Regions from separate parts of the Homo sapiens genome. Here region 1 is linked to region 2. The links are contacts of gene promoters, found by promoter capture Hi-C in human tissues and cell types (Jung and others, 2019). All regions are on one chromosome and are shown on one strand. Each heading gives the region's core, a stretch centred on a gene start or on the middle of the fragment in contact. The rest is flanking DNA. Distances are from core to core; before and after follow the strand shown. Region 1 overlaps AHDC1 (AT-hook DNA binding motif containing 1). Region 2 holds the start of HMGN2 (high mobility group nucleosomal binding domain 2).

What was found. Contacts are between HindIII fragments. The study calls those that stand out against the background at their distance.
Region 1: a contact is called between a fragment that was not itself captured here and the fragment with the promoter of HMGN2 in region 2, in 1 of the 25 tissues and cell types used here (pancreas).

What each region holds. Positions count from the first base shown.
Region 1 is chr1:27,547,146-27,551,929 of GRCh38, forward strand. It overlaps AHDC1 (AT-hook DNA binding motif containing 1), which reads right to left. Exons shown (of 9, transcript NM_001371928.1): 8 at 116-4,784. The coding sequence ends at 159. Among named protein-coding and RNA genes, the nearest start is that of AHDC1, 55 kb to the right of the region's middle. The HindIII fragment of the contact is 6,600 bases long and covers 1-4,784 here.
Region 2 is chr1:26,471,009-26,475,614 of GRCh38, forward strand. HMGN2 (high mobility group nucleosomal binding domain 2) reads left to right here and starts at 1,432. Exons shown (of 6, transcript NM_005517.4): 1 at 1,432-1,619; 2 at 2,475-2,519; 3 at 2,695-2,724; 4 at 3,077-3,127; 5 at 3,564-3,659; 6 at 4,105-4,606. The coding sequence starts at 1,605. The coding sequence ends at 4,140. It overlaps DHDDS (dehydrodolichyl diphosphate synthase subunit), which reads left to right. Exons shown (of 9, transcript NM_205861.3): 9 at 1-298. RefSeq lists enhancers at 39-747, 748-1,457 and silencers at 827-1,242, 1,127-1,396, 1,657-1,946, 1,987-2,156. The HindIII fragment of the contact is 14,054 bases long and covers 1-4,606 here.

The DNA.
Region 1 (4,784 bases), core at 410-2,909, 1.1 Mb after region 2:
GCCCTTAAATCCTGCATTTGCTTCCTGCACTCCATACCTCTGTCCTTGCCTAAGCTCTGATGTCCTCTTCCCACCCCCAGGCCTCTGCCCACTGCGCCCACATCCCCAGACTCACCCAGGAACAAAACCTCGCGGTCCAGTCGGCACTTCAGTTGGCACTACAGGGATGTGACGGTGAATGTGTCCTCGGGGTGAGGTTCCGCCATGGGCCCCAGGAAGCCGCTCTTGGGGCCCCCACCCAGGCCAGGATGCGCCTGGGGCATAAAGCCTGGGTACCTGTAGGCGGTGTCCTGCAGGGGCAGCAGCGAGTCCCTCGGCACGGGGGACAGGGTCAAGTCACTAAGGAGTGGGCAGCCATAGCCAGCAGCGGCTGCAGCAGGGCCACGGGGTGGGCCAGGGGGCCGGGCCATTTCCAGTGGCTCCTTGTCGGCCTTGGGCGTGGCTGGTGGGCTAGCCAGGTGAGGGGCACTGAGGCACGCGGCCTCCGTCCTGCCCAGGAAGTCAGCCAGCAGCCCTGTACCCACCTTGCCTTCATAGGGCGGGCTGCGGGCAGCTGAGCCTGGAGGGTACCAATAGGCTGTGCCCTTGCAGCTGGGGGAATCGTAGTGGGGCTGGCCCAGCGGCAGGTCCCGGCAGCTCAGGTGGGCCTGGGCTGCAGCTGCGTGGCCCAGGCTGGCCCCCTGGAGTCCATGCTTGAGGGGCTCGCAGGCAGCCAGCTTTGTGGGCGGTGGCCGCAGCTCTTCCTTGAAGCCCAGTGTAGGCGAGCAGGTGGGCGAGTATGCCTTCTGCAGGCCGGCGTCAAACACCGTGGGTGGGTGGGCCAGCGGTGGGAAATGCTTGCCATCAAGCTCGGGAGCACCCAGGCTGGGCGAGTCGCAGTGGAAGCCTTGGCCAAAGGTGCCATCGGAAGGCGTGGACGGGTTCATGGAGTAGGGTCCTATGAAGTCACAGGGGTCTCGCTCTCCCACGCCGAAGGCCCTCGACTGTGAGGGCAGTGGTGACATGCTGCTGTCCCCGCTATAGTAGTCCAGGCCGAGGTCAGGACTGTCCTGGAACAGTGGGTTGACTGGCTGTGGCTTGGGGATGAACTTGGCTTTGGCCGCTGCGCCACCCCGCTCCTTCTTGGCTGAGCAGGCCCCACCGCCCCGTCCACCTCGCGGCTGCCGGGGCCCAGTGCTCCGTTTGGATGGGTAGCCTGAGGCAGCGGCAGAGGCGGATGTCGGGAAGCCCAGATGTGAGGCCTCGAACAGGTCCACCTTCTTCCGCCGTCCACGGCCCGGCTTGGAGCTACTCTGAAAGAGGACACTCTGGTTCCAGTTGTAGCCGGGGGCAGATGATGCCTCGTTCCAGTCCATCATCAGTTTCTCCAGGCTGGACAGGCTCGACTGGCCCTCACTACTTGAGGCCTCGCTGTTGGCACGCCGAAACCCCCCGCCACCAACCGGCTGATTGAACTGGGTGCTGTCGGAGGATGACTCAGAGAAGGTCTCCGACACAGCCGTCTGCTGCTTCACCTTCTGCGGTGTGTAGTTGGAGATGTCCAGGATCACGTTGGGCTCGCTGACGTGGCAGTCAAAACTGGGATTGTAGAGCTGACTAAAGGCCTCTGAGGCCCAGTCCAGGCCTCCATAGCCCTGCCGGAAAGGCCACTGAGAAGCCCCCGCAAACTGCCGACAGTTCTCGGGCGAGGGCTGGAAGGAGGAGGAGGAGGAGGAGGCGGCAGAGGCTGCAGAGGTGGCAGAGGCTGTGGTGCCCTTGGGTACCATGTAGCCACCGGGCGAGACTGTGCTGGCCCGGCTGTCACAGCGCAGGGGCGTGGGGGCTGAACCAGAGAAGGGGGCCCCCTCAGAGCTGCTGAAGAAGGAGGCCTTGCTTGGTGGCAGGCAGGGGCCCCCGGTAGGCGGTGGGGCATAGCCGGCGCTGTGGGCGCTGCTGGGTGAGGCAGGGAGGCTGTTGCCACTGCCATAGGCGAAGCTGCAGTCCTTGCTGTTAGCGCAGTCCTGGCCTGTAAAGGGCTTAGTTGGGGCGAATACGCTTTGTCCGGCCCCATAGCCGCCGTACTGGGGCAGGTAGGTGTTGGCAGGCGGGTGGGTGGTAGGTGAGCGGGCCATGGCTGAGGGCGGGGGCACCAGCTTGGGGAAGGTCTCGGCTGCCCGGCAGTCTGAAGCGGCTGGAGTTAGCCCATAGCTTGCTGCTCGTCCTGGTGGGAAGGTCTGGCGCGCGGACAGGACAGGCTGAAAGGAGGGGTCCGCCCCAGCCCCGCTGCTACCCACTGCCACTGGGCTGGCCTTGGCTCCCCGGCTAGGGAAGGTGGCCAGGCCCCGCTGGGCAGGCAGGGCACTGGTGGGTGGCCCTGCATAGGTGCCCGATGCCTTCCGGGACTCTGGGCGAGAGGCTGAGAGGGCAAAGTCCAAGAGATCGGAGGAGTCATCCGAATCGAGCAGCGAGCGAAAGTAGCCGGTGAAGAGGTTTTGGCGCTCCTGGCTGAGCTCGGTCTGGCCTGAGGGTGCACCCGTGCTGTAGTAGCTGCCACGGCCTGAGGCTCCACTCTCCAGCCCAGTGGAGGCAAAGGCCCGGGCCTCGGTCCCCTGAAACCCACAGTTTCGGCCAGCTTGTCCGCCTGGGTGCCCATGGTGAGGGGCCCAGCCACCACCCTTATCCCCGGCCCACTCAGCACCTGCCTCCCCAAAGCCTGGGCCACTGGGCACCTGCTCTGGGAACAGAGTCCCATTCTTCCGGGACCGTCTCTTGCGCTTTGGCTTCCCAGTCACAGCGTCTACCTCCCCCCGGCCCCGTTTGCGTGGGTGCCCCAACTCAGTAAGGCCCGGGCCCCCGACCCCAGCGGCTGCCACGGCCACCACCTTCTTTTTCTTGCCGATGCCCTCAAAGAAGTCACTGAAGGAGCATCGGGCTGACTTGGCCGCATGGCCCCCACCCCGGCCACCAAAACCGCCTGCTTTGCCCCCACGCCGCCGGAAGCCCTGCACACGATGCAGGAAGTGGGAGATGCTCTGGGTGTCGGGGGCCTGGTGCACCGACTCCGGCTCACTGGGTGTCCAGCAGCGGGGCGGTGAGCACCGTCCAGCGCACTGGCTCTGGCGGTTCAGGAAGGCCAGCTTGGCCAGGACGTCTGAGTACTCGGCCTTGCTGTCGTTGGCGTCTGCTGCATAGGATGGCTGGGGAGATGCCAGCTTCTGCTTCCGCCGCCGTCGTTTTTTTACCTCTGGCATGGCCATGGTGGCCGCTGCCACAGTGGCTGCCTCGGCCGCCACCACAGCTGGCTCCTTGGGCTTGCCGGGACCCAGCAGCAGGTTCTTAGGAGGGCGGCCGCGCTTACGTTTGAGAATAATGGGCATCTCACCGGGTGGGAAGACCACTACCACGTTCCGCCCATTGTTCTTCATCTTCAGCAGCGGGGTGGGCTCAGCCGACACGCGCAGGCCCAGCTCCTTGCCCTCCACGCTCAGGCTGCTGCTCAAGGAAGACACTTTGTATGTGGTCTTGTTCCGCCGCCCCAGCGATACGGGGATCTTGGCCATCTTCACCACCATGCGCCGCACGCCCCGGCACTTGCCTTTGCGGGTAGAGACCACTGGGGTCTGGGAAGATTCCGGCTTCAACTCTGGGACTGAGACCGGGCCTGGGCCTGGCAGGGCAGGGGGTGGAGGAGGCGGTGGTGGTGGGGGTTCGGCCAGGGCAGCCACCAGCCCCGTGGGCATAGGCAGGGGCAGTAGGCGGCCCTCGGGTCCGGCGTCTGCCTTGCGTCCCCGTCCGGCTTTCCGCCGGCGACACAGGATCTTTGGCCTATCAGTGCGCCGCAAGGCGTACTTGGGGTGACCCTCAGGCCCGGGGGGGCCGTGCGGTGAGCACAAGTCCAGGCGCAAGGGCTCGGCCAGTGGGCAGTGCCCCAGGGGCTGCTGGGGCTCCAGACGGCGACCTGGGACGTCAAGCAGCTTGGGCAGGGGGTCGAGTGCCTGGGGGTCAAGCAGCTGCGACTCCAAGGAGTCAGGCAGGGTGTCCAGGGCCTGGAGAGCCAGGCCCGGCAGCCCCAGAGGATCAGCAAGAGGTTGCAGGGGTGGCAGCTCCAGAGCTTCCCCGAGCGGCTCTAGTGCCTGCGGGTCCAGGAAGCGGGGCTGGGGGTCCAGGAGCTGAGGCTCCGGCTCGGGCGATGGTGGCTCGAGGGCCTGGGCCTCTAGCAGCTGGGCCTCTGGGCAAGTGAGGGAGGCCAGCTCACTAAGGATGTCGGCGTCAGCAAGTTCTGAGTAATCAGTGCTGTCTGGCTCAGGCTCTGGGGGCAGACCCGTGGCCGCAGCCGTGGCTCCGGGACTATGGCCTTGGCCAGGCTGGGGACTGTCCCTAGGCTCAGGCTCAGGCTCGTAGAGGGGATGGCTGGGCCGCTCCGACTTGGCGTGTGGGGTGGCCCGCTCCTCAGGGCTACGGATGCTGTTGGCCAAACTGGGTGAGGAGAAGAAGCTGTACTGTAGGTCGCCGGGTGGCGGTGCAGGCGGGCGGCTCAGTCGGAGCCCACCACAGTCCAGGTGTACACCACTGTGCTGCAGGTCCTGGGAGAGGCGTGTCAGGTCCTTCATGATGTCAATCAGCTGCACCACTGGTCGCAGGTTCACCCGCCCGTTGTCCCAGCAGCGTCGGGAGCTGCTGCCGTCTCCGACCGGTGTGGGGCAGCGGGCCTGTGAGACAGGACGGGCTGCCCGTGGGGGCAGCGGGTCGTCCCCCTTGGCAAGGACTGGTGGGCGCCGGGTGCTGGGGTCCCGGCGTGGGGGTGG
Region 2 (4,606 bases), core at 182-2,681:
GAAAGGTACACAGGGTGGAGTAGGGAGAAGCTGCCCCAGGAGGCGATGTAGTGGTGGAAAGAAGAGGCAGAGAGGTCGTCGTCGTCGCCCAGCAGCAAGGGCTGCAAAATAGTAGAACTCGTGGTTGCTTTGGACAGGTGTGATTTGTGCAAGCCAGGTTCAACCCTTGCCTCAAGAAATCAGATGGGACCAATTTAGTGTCCTTCCACCTGTGAGCCAAGCCCCCATTTGAGGACATCTATCGTATTCTTGTGTGCTGGGTCTCAAATAGAATTTTTAAAGATTCTTAGATGTAAAACTTGTTTGCTAACTGCAACGGAAGAACACCTTCTTTTGCTGCTGCAATTGCCTACCCTCCCTCAGGTGCACTTGGCTAGCTCCAAGACCCTGGCTTTGGACTAGGGGGCACCGGAAGAGCCCTTTTGCCATCACACCACCTGTTCCTCTACTTGTTTCCTAATCCCCGGGCGCTTTCCTCCACCCTCCTTTCCTCGCGCAAGTGAAAGGCAGCCAGCTTGACAGTGTGGAAGGAGGGATTTCGCCAGCTGCGGCTGCAGTGCCCAGGCTTGGTGGCCGCGTCGGGTTGGGCAGCTGGGCAAAATGTCTCCGAGAGGGGTAGAGTGTAGGGGGAAGTGAGTGCTGGTAGACCTCGACGGCCGCTCTCCACCATACTGTGGCGGGGTCTGGAGGTTTGGGAATACAGGGACCTTAAGGGAGCCACCCGAGAGGAGTTGGGGGTGGGGGCTTCGATAGCATTTGGGGAGGCGGCTGCGCAACGGGTGCTGAAAGGACAGCTCCTACCTGACCCACGGCACCCAAAAGGCACCTCTGCATGGAAAGTCTCCCCCTGAAACCCCTAGCCCACCTCGAGTGGGACCGTCTTTCAGGTGAGGTGCACGAAAGGCTTCTCCGAAGTGGCAGCTCGGAAGGATGCACGTCCGGCTGCGCCAAGCTGGTTTCCCCGCCTTTTTCCCACTTTGGCGTCAGCCTGGGCTCTGGGAACTGCAGCCTGTGCCTCCAGCCGCGCGCTTCCTCCTGCTTCCAGAGGAGCAGGGCAGTGCAGCCAGGCCTCGCAAACCCCTCTTCTGGGGCCCCCAGCGGGAGCAGGAAGGAAAGCCGCTGAGATGCGCCGTGAGTGTCGCACGGCTTGGAGAAGTGGGTTGCTGGGTTGCATAAGGTGGAAGGAACTTGCTAGTTTGCAAAAGACAGCTCTTGGCGGGAGCCGGAACCCGGAGCCCGCCGACTCGCGCACCCCTCCTCATTTACTGCCTTCGACGCGCGCCACCCCGACTGCGCCCCCACCCCCTCGGCGCGCCGCCGTCTCCGCGCACTACCCCCCCCACACACCCCCCTCCTCACTCCCTCCAGAGGAGGTGAGTTTAAACCCCGCCCACGTGACCCCAGCTGGGCCAATGAACGGCGGCGGGAGGTGAAATCCGGTTCTAACCGGTCCGGGGCTCCCAGCGCTATAAAAACTTTATAAACCCCCCGGAGCCCGAGCAGTGTGAAGAAGAGGCGAGAACGACCCCCGGACCGACCAAAGCCCGCGCGCCGCTGCATCCCGCGTCCAGCACCTACGTCCCGCTGCCGTCGCCGCCGCCACCATGCCCAAGAGAAAGGTACGTGGCGCGAGGGCCCCAGGCGCCGGGCCACCACTGCCGCCACCGCCGCCGCCGCCTCCCTGGTGCAGGGAGCGAGAATCGGCGCCGAGCAGGAGCCAGCGCAGCCTCCCCGCGCGGGGGCTGGAGACGGTGTCGGGCAGCTCGGGGCTAACCCTGAGCGGCTCGGCTGCCCGCGGGCGCCAGAGGCCATATTGGAGGAGCGGCGGCCGCGGCGGGAGGAGCCATGTTGGCGGCTGTTTATCCCGCTCTCCTCGGGCTCGCCGCCCCCGCCCCGTGCCCCCTCCCCCATCGCGAGGGCCCCTTCCCTCCCCTCCCTGCGGGCGGGCAATTCAAACCCGAAAGGGCGGGAAGGCGGCGCTCGGGGTTGGCGGGCGGGGGAAAGCGCTGCCGCCAAAAAACCGCCGCCGTGAGGGGCGGGGCTTGTGCGGTATGGCCCCGCCCCCTCGCCCACGTTCCCCGCGCACGAGACGCGCGCTGTCGCCGCCCACGAGTTCCCCGGGCTGCGCGCGCCTCCCTCTCCCGCCCTCGACGGCTGCCATAGCAACGGCGCTGGGCTCCGCCTCCGGAGGGGGTTTGTTTGCGCCATCTGCAGCTGTTGCTCCTGCCTGTCGCGGTGGTGCGGGCTCCGCTGCCCTCCCCGGCTGCGCTCCGGTCCAGCCCTCGCTTCTCGGGGTCGGCGAGCCGGAGCTCCTGCGCGCGCTTCGTTCTTATACGAACGTCGGGCTCACTCATTTATGTCCTAGAAAAGTTGTGTGGACGACTGCTTTAATTTTCATTTTTAGCACTCTAAAGTTTGGGAAGTAATTAAGAACCACCTCAAAATCTGCAGTTTTTTGTTCTTGTTTCTTATAGGCTGAAGGGGATGCTAAGGGAGATAAAGCAAAGGTGAAGGACGAAGTAAGTCATTCTCTCTTCAAGGGTCAAAGCCTTGGACTAGCAGAGGCCACTGGACTCGGTGATTAACCGTAACCTGTGTCCTGAATTTACACTCCTATAATCTAGAGCAAATTGATACCAAACTTTCAAAGCGACTTACCTGTCCTATTTCTAACTTTCTCGTTGTCTTTAATAGCCACAGAGAAGATCCGCGAGGTTGTCTGCTGTAAGTGTATGCTTTTGAATTTTCGTGCTTGTCCCTGAAACTAAAAAACATCAAAAAACAATTCCCTTTGCTTCCATGAATTATGGTTAGTGCCTGGTTTTGAATCATTGCCTCTACTTGGGACTCTTGCCCCTTTGGGTTTTGCTGGTTCTGAAATTCTGATGCCTGTAGCCAAAGTGGGACATTTGAGTGGGCTTCTGGAAATCCAACATTCTAGAAGAAAGCCAACCACAAAAACTTTTGAGGAGGAGGAGAAACTTCTCTACCCTTGGTACTTTTGGTTGGTTGTGGGTGGTTTTCTTCAGTCCATTGTACTGATGTTCACTTTTTCCTCTCTTCCTGCCAAAAAAAGAAACCTGCTCCTCCAAAGCCAGAGCCCAAGCCTAAAAAGGCCCCTGCAAAGGTAAGTGCTAACATTGGAACTGATCATTTTCACAGAATGAGGACTGTCCTTAGTGCCTTAACTTAATTAGCATAATGGTGCCTCCATTAATGGAGGTTATAAACTGTGTGGATAGCTTACCTCGTCCGTGTCATTCATAACGTTGGTTTCCTGATCAAGAATTCTGTTGTTAGTTTATAGGAAAATCTGCATTTAAATATTAAATACCCCAGGGTTTAAACTAATTTATTCTTCTGTTACTTAGGAAATTCTAAGTACTAAAGATTATAGCAAATTACAGATAATTTAGCCTAGTTTTGATCAGTTGTTCTTGTCAAATGGGTGAGGGTTTGTGTTTTATCTTGAGTAAACAATCCTACCTTGTGCAGAACTTTGCAGACCATACCTTGGTAATACGAAATGGGGAGAAACAGTTCTATTTTTTCCCCTTTTTCAGAAGGGAGAGAAGGTACCCAAAGGGAAAAAGGGAAAAGCTGATGCTGGCAAGGAGGGGAATAACCCTGCAGAAAATGGAGATGCCAAAACAGACCAGGTATAACTGCTGTTTCACCCTTTGTTAGATTTGTTCATTCAGTTAGTTGCTGATATCAAAAATTTAATTGCCCTTTTCTTGTATCACTCCAAATGTACCATTTGGTCCAGTGTGCTTGTGGCTTTCCTGTTAACTTAAATCCTGGATTCTTGAAATCTCTACTGTCAGCTGAAGGGCATTGTGTTTTATACTACATGAAGTTTTCAAGCTAGGAGTAACCTCAGGTCTCTTATTCTGGTGTTCTTCCTACCTCAATTTTACAGTGAGGCCCAGAGGAGAGGTGACTTAGCAAAGTTACCTAGTAAGTCATTCTCAGAAGAAATACTGAGTCTCAGTACCTGAAACCTGAACTTTGGCCTGGGAGCAAAGTGATGCTGTAGGTGGAATGTGAACACAGATAGTTTTGAAATCTACGCATTGCATTAATTTGTCTGTTTTCTTTTAGGCACAGAAAGCTGAAGGTGCTGGAGATGCCAAGTGAAGTGTGTGCATTTTTGATAACTGTGTACTTCTGGTGACTGTACAGTTTGAAATACTATTTTTTATCAAGTTTTATAAAAATGCAGAATTTTGTTTTACTTTTTTTTTTTTTTTAAAAGCTATGTTGTTAGCACACAGAACACTTCATTGTTGTTTTTGGGGGAAGGGGCATATGTCACTAATAGAATGTCTCCAAAGCTGGATTGATGTGGAGAAAACACCTTTCCCTTCTAGTTTTGAGAGACTTCCTCTTGGCTCCCAGGAGGAGGGATTCCCTGACTTTGACACACATGGCCACCTTGGCACAAAAGCCTTGTGGTATAGAAAAACAAATTTGTTTTTATGTCCTCTTCTCCCTTTCCATCGTTCAGCATAGACTTAACTCCCTTAAGCCCAGACATCTGTTGAGACCTGACCCCTAGTCATTGGTTACCAGTGTGTCAGGCAATCTGGACTTTCCAGTGATG